Regions from separate parts of the Homo sapiens genome. Here region 1 is linked to region 2. The links are contacts of gene promoters, found by promoter capture Hi-C in human tissues and cell types (Jung and others, 2019). All regions are on one chromosome and are shown on one strand. Each heading gives the region's core, a stretch centred on a gene start or on the middle of the fragment in contact. The rest is flanking DNA. Distances are from core to core; before and after follow the strand shown. Region 1 overlaps CYP2B6 (cytochrome P450 family 2 subfamily B member 6). Region 2 holds the start of CYP2F1 (cytochrome P450 family 2 subfamily F member 1).

Region 1 (5,209 bases), core at 2,182-4,681, 100 kb after region 2:
TACAGCTTTGTGAATGAACCACACGCCACTAAATTTTACACTTTAAAACAGCTAATTTTATGTTATGTGAATTTCAGCTTAATTTTTAAAATTATATATATACATGGCTGGGCACGGTGACTCACGCCTGTAATCCCAGCACTTTGGGAGGCTAAGGTGGGTGAATCACTTGAGTTCAGGAGTTCGAGACCAGCCTGGCCTACACAGTGAAACCCCATCTCTACTAAAAATACAAAAATTAGCCAAGCGTGGTAGTGCATGCCTGTAATCCCAGCTACTAGGGAGGCTGAGGCAGGAGAGTTGCTTGATCCCCGGGGGTGGAGGTTGCAGTGAGCCGAGATCACGCCACTGCACTCCAGCCTGGGCAACAGTGTGAGACTCTGTCTCAAAAAACAAGAACATATATATATATATGATTTTGTATATTATAATTTTCGATAATCTCACTCCTGCACTCACTTGCAATGTGACCTCAGACAACTGGTGCCATGGAGGGGAAGGAAGCTGGCTTGTAGCAGGTCTCTCAGAGGCAGGAAGTTGCGGGGAGTCAGAGCCATTGTCTACAGAGGCGGGGACACTGAATGACCCTGGAATCCTTTGACCCCCTTCCCTCAGCCCCTTCAGCGGGGCAGGAAGCGGATCTGGTATGTTGGGGGTATTTTGCCCACACCACACTCCTGGGGTGTCAGATCGATGTCTTCTGGGGCCACGGGGCTGGCCATGGAGAAGTTCTGGAGGATGGTGGTGAAGAAGAGGAACAATTCCGCACGGGCGATGCCTTCACCAAGACAAATCCGCTTCCCTGTGGACACAGAAGGTCACCAGTGTGGGCACAGGGCAGGTGCATACACTTCGCTCTGCCATGTCCCTAAGCCCAGACACAAATGTCCACTGCAACAGATTTGCATAAGACTGGCCTTTAACCTACAATTCAGGGTGGACTTTTAGGAAGCTGCTCTGAAACCAGATGCAAATCTTTGAGTGGATGTGCCACGTTCATTTCTCTCTCTCTCTTTTTTTTTTTTTTTTTTTTTTTTTTTTTTTTTTTGAGATGGAGTCTCTCTTTGTCACCCAGACTGGAGCACAGTGGCACCATCTTGGCTCACTGCAACCTCCACCTCCCAGGTGGTTCAAATGATTCTTGTGCCTCAGCCTACCAAGTAGCTGGGATTACAGGCACCTGCCACCACGCCTGGCTAATTTCTTCTATTTTTAGTAGACATGGGGTATCATCATATTGGCCAGGCTAGCCTCGAGCTCCTGACCTCAGATAATCCACCTGCCTTGGCCTCCCAAAGTGGGATTACAGGCATGAGCCACTGCACCCGGCGCCATGTTCATTTTTATATAAGAGAGTTTCTAGCTTCTGTTACAGTTCCAAAGGGTTGGTGAAACCCACAGAGTATAATGACCCATTTCTGGTTCTGTGTGTGTGTGTGTGTGTGTGTACCTGTACATGTGTGAGTGTGAGCACATTTATGACAACATTCTTAGTGTTCTTCACTTCTCATATGGGGAGAATGGCACCTCCCTCAAAGGGCTCTTGTGAGGTTAAAGGAGACAATTGTAAAAATTCTTAGAATAGCACTTGGCTTGTGCTAAGGAGGCTTAAGGTTTGGTTACTGCCTTGTGTTTGTTTCTGGGGTATGTGTGGGGTATGTGTTTCTGGCCATGTGTCTGTGTCTGTGTCTCTAGGCTGTCTTCTAGTCTCAGCCTGAGATCCACAGGCTTCAAGAGCTCAAGGGGGGAAAAGCCCAATTGTATATAAATTGTGAATGGGACTGATGCGTATGAGACAGGGAGGGTCTATGGCTTCCACTGATTCTCAGAGGTGCAAGGAACCCCCAGTAGATTCTAAACCACAGATTGGGAGAAAAATAAGAACAAAGGGTGCTGGAAAAAGCTCAGGCAGAGACAAAGGGAGCCTTTCCCTTCACTTCAGTGTTTCATAATCTGCAAACCTTGGAAAGGCCATGTCAAGTGTGAGTTTTCAGGCATTCCCTATGCCTGTCAAGTTGTTGGACAAGTGTGTCTATGTGGAGGTGTTTGGAAAAGTGTCCACATCCCTTTGGCATACCCAGAAGGTGGGTGACATGAGCTTAGAAACAGGCAGGTCTCTGGGCCTGTTCTTCTGTAACTCTTTGTGTGACCTAACATTTTTCACAACAGCCTGAGGCTTATTATCTCCCTCTCATCACGCCCTCCCCATCTCTGGGGCCGTCTGTTTGGACACCTTTCGAATTTCTTTGGCTGCAGTACCCTTTTGGCTTGGGTTATACCTTTCTTTCTGCCCCTGGCAGCCCTACTCCTGTCTTTTTCTCTGTCTATACCTGTCAGACACAGCTTTTCTTCTTTTCCTCTCCTTTTTTTGGCTTTCTTCCATCTTGCTTAACTTCCTATCTCCATCTATTTGAATCTGATTTCTCCCCAATCTCTTTCTCTCTCATTCTTTCTTTTCATCTCCCTCTAAAGATACCTTATTTGTCTTGTTCATTCTTTCTTCCTCTCTTTTTATGTCACTCTCTCTTTTTCCTATCTCTTATTCTGTTTCTCTCCTTTCCCTCCTTTCTCCCCTCCTCCTTCCTTTTCCTACTCTCTCTCCTCTTATTCCTCCTCCTCCTCCTTCTCCTTACGTGACTCTCTCTCTCTCTGTGTCTCTCTCTCTTCCTCTCTGTATACTGTCTGAGGTTTGCCCTCTGTCTTTCTGCCACTGGCTCCCCATCTCTATCTCTATGTGTTCCCTCTTTGTCCCTAACTCTGTTTCTCAGTCTCATTATCTTTGTTACTTATCTGTCTCTGTCCTTATTTCCCTACATCTCTGCCTCTCTTAAAACAAATTAGCAGGCCAGTCGCAGTGGCTTATGCCTGTAATCCCAGGACTTTCAGAAACTGAGGTGGGCATATCACAAGGTCAGAAGATCAGCACCATCCTGGCTAACACGGTGAAACCCAGTCTCTACTAAAAATAAAAAAAAATAGCCAGGCATGGTGGCATGCGCCCGTAGTTTCAGGTACTCGGGAGGCTGAGGCAGGAGAATCACTTGAACCTGGGAGGCAGAGGTTGCAGTGAGCTGTGATCGTGACACTGCACTCCAGCCTGGGCAACACAGGAAGACTCCGTCTGAAGACAAAAAAAAAAAAAGAAACTTCAGATAGCAAAATTGAGAGAAGACATTGACATTCAAGCCATCACCACACATGTTCCCAATTTTCATTGAAGATAAAATGTGGAAGGAGGTCACTGTACTGCGCAAAACCGGGGGCTGGGCCAAACCCTGGATCACTGAAGTCACTGATGAAACTCAAGACTGGGGGTTTGTTTCTGGGGCCTTTCATGGATGGTGCATGTTAAATTCAATTAAATTTGGCCTAAAGCAGCCTCCCTACATAACAAATTGTAATGTAACTCAACATGTAAACAAACTTGAGAGTATATTCTTGTAACAAGTAACCTTGGACAATCAGGGCAGCCAAGCTTCAGCCAGTCACAGGCTACAAGCTGCCCAGACATGCTCAGATAAGGCAAACACAGAGCTGTAACCAATCAGGCTGTTTCAGTACCTCAGTTCCTTTCCCTGTGGATAAATAGTGCCTGACCACATTGCTGGATGGAGCTCTCTGAACCTTTACTGGTTCCTTGTGCTGCCCAATTCATGAATTGTTTCTTTGTTCAGATAGACTCTGCTAAGTTTAATTTGTCTAAAGTTTTTCTTTTAACCAGCCAAAGAGTAGAGGATGAGAACTGGGACAAGTCAGAGCACGTCAAGACCTTTTCCACCTTCCCAGTGCTAGACCATAAATCCAAACTCCTCCTGCAACCTTCAAGGTCCTGCCCAGATGAGCCCTTTGTCTTATTTCCTTCTGCAATCTACACCCAAGGCTCACTGGACTTCCTATAGGTTCTCAATGGTGCCATATCACGTTTCTACCTTTGGCCTTTGTCCTTGCTGTTTCCTTTGCCTGGAACACACTTTGCAATGGTTGATTGATGCTCACCCATGAACATGTTAGCTTGGAAGCCAGTTCCTCTGGTAAGCTTTTCCTTACGGACCCACCACAAGATTAGCTACTATTTCCTATTTTGTGCTCCCAAAGCTCCCTTTAGAGCACTTATCACAATTATGTCTAATTATAATAATAATTGCCCTTGTGAGCATGTCCTTTGTGCCAGGCAGTTCTAAGCATGTTGCAGGCATTCATTCATTTCATGAGATGATTATTTTATTATTATTTGATGAATGCCCATCTTCCCTGCTGGACTTTAAATTTCCTGGGGCAGGAACCCTGTCTCTGTGTGACTTGTTTGATGCATTATCTTCAGCCCCCAGTACAGCACTGGGCTTACAGTGGTGCCCAACAGATTTTTTCTTTTTAAGAAAATGAACTCACTGAGGTTTAGAGATGTTAAAATACTTGCCCAAGGTCCTGCTTGCCAAGATGTGCCTTTGGGAATGTAATCTTCTTTCTCAAGCCTCCTTATAGGGTTGTAGTGAAGATGGAATGGGATAAGGCAGGTGAAGCAATCAGAATATATTAAGTGCTCAAATAATCAGTATCTCTCGTTGTTTTTCTCAAGTTGGGGATAGTACCTGCCCTCTGGTGTCTGGGAAAGAAATTGTGGGTCCAGCTTACCTAAGGAGAAGGGGATAAAAGCTTCAGTCTTTTTCAGTGCCCCATTGGCATCCAGAAAGTGGTCAGGATTGAAGGCGTCTGGTTTTTCAAAGTAGTGTGGGTCATGGAGAGCAGTGCTCAGGATGAGAAATACTTCTGTGTCCTGAGGGAGGATCACAAGATCAAAAGATATTGCCATTCCCTCCAACCCTCCACACACTCCACAAAAAAGAAATACAAAAAACAAAAACAACGGGACTCAATTAAGGAGCTAACAAAAGGTTGAGTTCGGGGATTAAGAGAATCCAGGATGCCCAAACAGGAGGGCTATGGGGTTCCAGCCGGTCTTACCTTGGGGATGATGTACCCTCGGAAGCTGGTGTGTTGGGTGACAATGTGGGGCACACCCATGGGGAGAAGGTCGGAAAATCTCTGAATCTCATAGATGACTGCCTCTGTGTATGGCATTTTGGCTCGGTCATGAAGCTCTGGAGGGCGATGTGGGCCAATCACCTGTTCAATCTCCCTGTAGACTCTCTCTGTACAGAAAAGAAGACCAATGAATCTCATTTTAAAGAGGCATTTCAGGCCAGGCATG
Region 2 (4,845 bases), core at 43-2,542:
ACATCTATCTATCATCTATCTATCTATCTATCATCTATCATCTGTCTATCCATCATCTATCTATTCTTCTATCATCTATCATTGATCTGTCTATTATCTATCATCTATTATCTATCTATATCTATCATCTATCTACTATCTTCATAATCTATCATCTGTGTATCATCTGTCTATTATCTATCTATCATCACCTGTCTGTCAAGAGACTGTCATACAGAGACAGTGATAAAGAGAGATCAAGACACACAGGGACAGAGACAGACAAACACAGAGATAGGGAGAGCCAGAGAGCACATCACAGAAAGAGAGAGGCTGACATAGACTAGAGAAAGAAAGAGACAGAACTAGACAGACACAGAGCTAGAGAAAGACAAGGGAGATTGAGTGGAGAGACAGTGAGATGGACACTGACTGAGAGACAGAGAGGGACATGGAAGGATGGAGAGAAAAAGGGTAAGAGGGACAGAGAGAGGGAGAGACAGAGCTAGACACAGAGACTGAGGGAGACGAGAATGACAGACAGAAACAGATACACAAAGACAGAGTCACATAGACAGAGATGGAGAGAGAGAGAGAGAGAATAAGAGAGGCAGGGAATATTAGAGCCACACAAAGAGACGGGTAGGCTGCAAAGGGCAGACCAAGAGAGACTGAGGCCGGGCACGGTGGCTCACGCCTGTAATCCCAGCACTCTGGGAGGCCGAGGCAGGCGGATCACTTGAGGTCAGGAGTTTGAGACCAGCCTGGCCAACATGGTGAAACCCTGTCTCTACTAAAAACACAAAAATTAGTCAGGCGTGGTGTTAGGCACCTGTAATCCCAGCTACTCAGGAGGCTGAGGCAGGAGAATCGCTTGAACCCAGGAGGTGGAGGTTGCAGTGAGCTGAGATTGAACCACTGCACTCCAGCCTCAAAAAAAAAAAAAAAAAAAAAAAGAGAGAGAGAGAGAGAGAAAGAGACGGAGACAGAGAGGAAGGGCACAGGCAGAAACAGTGACAGGAAAAAATCAAGTGTTGCCAACCATGGGGTTGCATTGCAGAGAGAGAAGCCACCTACTTGGTGAAGCACCAGTAAAGAAATCCCAGTGCTCAGAACAGGGACATGAGAGCTCTCAGAGGAAACAGCAAAAAAGATTCCTAGCCAGTCTCAGAGACAGAGATTGGAGCTGGCGACCCACCCTCTCTTGGGAGACACCCCCTCCTTCTCTGCCTCCCTCACCGGGGCCCTTTACCTGCTGAGCTGCAGGAGACACTGGCTGGGATGCGCTAGAGCCTGCAGCTCTGGGTGTGCTTGGGGGGTGGTGGGGCAGAGGTTGTTCTTAAGTTGTTTCTGCCCACACCCTCCTCCTTAACCCCACTTTTCTTGTTCTCGCTGTGAACTTTAAATCCCTCCCATCATCTTGCCATACCTTTCCTGCGGCCCTAGGGCTCACAGCCAGCTGGAAAGGTGCCGTGGGAGGGGGCTGCGCCTGGGGGCCCTCCTGGGATGGGGCAAAGCTTTCTTTCTTTCTTTGTTTTTTTTTTTTGCTTTGCCAGTTGGAGCCTGGGCCTGGTTTTGGGGTAGTCATGGGGCTGTCGCAAAATGATGGGCCAGGGATGGGGGCTGGGTTCCTTTGGTATTTGGGGCACTTGTTTCTTTTTCTCTGGGTTCAAGTCCATTTCTGCCACTGATGGGCCGAGTGGCCCTGGCTAAGTCCCTTTCCCTCCAGAGCTGGAGTTTTCTCTTTCTCTGGAAGCCTATTTTTTCATAGTTCTCCATGCTGTTCCCTGTCTCTTGCCGTGGGTCTCTGAAATGCTCTGTGTCTTGCTTTGCTTCTGCCTCTACAGTCTCTGCCTCTGAATCTTTTTGTCTCTCTGTGTCTCTGTCTCTCCCTCCTTTGGTGTCTCTGGGTCTTCATTTCTTATGCTCTCTGGGCTTTCTCCTTCTCTCTGCTTCTCTCCCTGATCTCCCTGTAAGTCCCTCTCAGTCACTGTCTCCTGATCTCTCTGGTCTCTCACTCTCTCTATCTCTCATGTCTCCACGAGTCAGACTGCACTTGGTGGGACTGAAGCCAAGCTGAGGCTGAAGGAGTGTTTAAGAAAAGGGCAGAGCTGGAAGCCACAGGGAAAAAGCCTCTCAGACTAGAATGACACTCTCTCCCACCACTGGCTCATAAACAGCCCTCCTCCTGCCCTCCTGAGCACCCTACTAGCCATGTCTACTCTCAGCTCCTGCCTTAGAAACTCACCCTAGTAGGCCAGGCGCAGTGGCTCACGCCTGTAATCCCAGCACTTTGGGAGGCCGAGGTGGGTGGATCACCTGAGGTCAGGAGTTCAAGACCAGCCTGGCCAACATGGTGAAACCCTGTCTCTACTAATAATACAAAAATTAGCCAGGCATGGTGGCTCACGCCTGTAGTCTGAGCTACTTGGGAGGCTGGGGCAGGAGAATCGCTTGAACCCGGGAGGTGGAGGTTGCAGTGAGCTAAGAACATGCCACTGCACTCCAGCCTGGGCAACAGGGTGAGACTCGGTCTCAAAAAAAAAAAAAAAAAAAAAAGAAGAAGAAACTGGCCCTAGTTACCCACCTCCTGGCCAGGTCACAAGGGCAGAATGCAAAACCTGGAGCTGGGCCAGGGCTCTGGTGCCAGGGGCTAGGCTGGGTGGAGAGCCCCTGCGGTCAAGGGTCTGGGAGGCCAGGTGGAGGTGTGGGTACCCCCACAGGTTCGTGGGTGTGCACCAGGATTGCTGTTCTCAGAGGGGCAGAGGAGGAAGTGTTTGGAGGTCCTGGGGAATTTGACACCCTAGGTCCCAGGCATATGGTGGGGTGGAGGTGGGGCCCATGCTGTTGTTTCAGTCCTGGATAGGCCGGTTGGGGCAGGTCCTGGAAGAGGGCTGAAGGCTTGATGATGGGATTATATAGCTCTAGTTTCCCTTGGCGTCTACTCCCTACTTTTAAGGGGAGGGTGTAGTGCTGTATCCACGCCAACCCTGTAAGCAACTTATCCCTCACCCTAGAACTTGGTTAAGAGGGGCCTAATGAGGCTGGGCGTGGTGGCTCATGCCTGTAATCCCAGCACTTTGGGAGGCCGAGGTGGGTGGATCACCTGAGGTCAGGAGTTTGAGACAGCCTGACCAACATGGCAAAACCCTGTCTCTACTAAAAATACAAAAAAAATTAGCCAGGCGTGGTGGTGCTTGCCTATAATCCCAGCTACTCAGGAGGCTGAGGCAGGAGAATCACTTGAACCCGGGAGGTGGAGGTTGCAGTGAGCTGAGATTGTACCATTGCACTCCAGCCTGGGCAACAAGAGTGAAACTTTGACTCAAAAAAAAGAAAAAAAAAGAAAAAAAAGATGGGCCTAATGGGACCACCTGATTGGGGAAACTGGGATTTATGGGAAGGGCAGTTAGTTAGTTTGTTTTGACACAGGGTCTCACTCTGTCACCCAGACTGGAGTTTAGTGGTGTGATCATAGCTCATTGCAGCCTCGATCTCCTGGGCTTAAGGGATTCTCCTGCCTCAGCTTCCCAAGTAGCTGGGACTACAAGCACGCATCACCACACCTGGCTAATTTTTAAAATTTTTAGTAGAGATGAGATCTAGCATGCTATGTCACCCAGTCTGGTCCCCAACTCCTGGGCTCAAGCGATCCTCCCACCTGGGCCTCTGGGGATTACAGGCGTGAGCCACCATGTGTGGCCGAGAAGGGGGGTTTTAAGAGGCTTTGAGTTCTGTTATTCTGACTTGCTCTCCTGCTACAGAGGGAACTTGGGGCAAGGAAGGGATGTATTGCAATTTCTCAACTCACTGCTGTTGATGTCTTGGGCCTTCATGGGTGGTGGGGGCTGCATCCTGTGTGTGGTAGGATGTTTAGCAGTGTCCTTGGTTTCTACTCAGTAGATGACAGAACCCACCCACTCATTCCCTACCAGTTGTTACAAACAAACATGACTCCAGATACTATTGAATGTCCCCTTGGGAGGAAAAAAATCAACCCAGTTGAGAACCGCTGGGGTATTGCAGAAAGCTGAAACACACTCCGTGGTGGAAAAATGCCTCGCCTCTCATTGTCCTCTCTTGGAACTCCCCCCGCCCTATTCCTATCCTTTTGTTCCTGCCTCCTCAAACTCCAAAACCCTCTTCAGTCACCTCACTCTTTGTTGATGAACCCGCTTCTTATCTCACGGAGAGAATGGCAGCAATGGGCAGTAAGCGGGCGCATCCTCCATCATCCTGTCCTCTTGCCCACTGGCATCTGGACGGCACATGCAGCCTTCCTTCCTGCTAGAACCACACAGTGTCCCATGTCAGGCTTAGGTGAGCCCCCTTCTGGTGTGCCAGATCCCATTCCATCGCCAACTGGAGGACTTGATTCTATTTACTGTGTCATAGTTCCTGTGAAGGTGTGTAGATGGAGTTTTCCCTTAACGATTTCTTTAGGTAAAATTTACCTGTGATGAAATACACACATGGTAAGTGAACATTTGCTGAATTTTGAAGGTATCGAAATCCCTGTGAAGATACAGAATATTTTCATCATCCAAGAAAGTTCTCTTGGAGCTGGGCGTGGTGGTTTGTGCCTATAATCCTAGCTATAGGAGGCTGAGGTGGAAGGATCACTAGAGGCCAGAAATTTGAGACCAGGCTGTGCAACATTGCGAGACCCCTGTCTCTACTAAAAAAAAGAAAAAAACAATAGCTAAGTGTGGTGGTGCACGCTTGTAATCCCAGCTACTCAAGGGGCTGAGGTGGAAGATCACTTGCACCCAGGAGTTCCAGGCTACAGTGAGCTATGAACACACCCCTGCACTCCAGCCTGGGTGACAAAGAGAGACTCCCTTCTCTAAAGTAATAATAATAATG

Evidence for each region. The method cuts DNA at HindIII sites, captures the fragments that hold promoters and counts their contacts. A contact is called where the count stands out against the background at its distance.
Region 1: a fragment that was not itself captured here is called in contact with the fragment with the promoter of CYP2F1 in region 2 in 3 of the 25 tissues and cell types used here (H1 embryonic stem cells, bladder and liver).

What each region holds. Positions count from the first base shown.
Region 1 is chr19:41,012,239-41,017,447 of GRCh38, reverse strand. CYP2B6 (cytochrome P450 family 2 subfamily B member 6) reads right to left here. Exons shown (of 9, transcript NM_000767.5): 7 at 4,963-5,150; 8 at 4,633-4,774; 9 at 1-802. The coding sequence ends at 621. Among named protein-coding and RNA genes, the nearest start is that of CYP2B6, 24 kb to the right of the region's middle. The HindIII fragment of the contact is 4,745 bases long and covers 1,059-5,209 here.
Region 2 is chr19:41,110,879-41,115,723 of GRCh38, reverse strand. CYP2F1 (cytochrome P450 family 2 subfamily F member 1) reads right to left here and starts at 1,292. Exons shown (of 10, transcript NM_000774.5): 1 at 1,232-1,292. The HindIII fragment of the contact is 13,902 bases long and covers 1-4,845 here.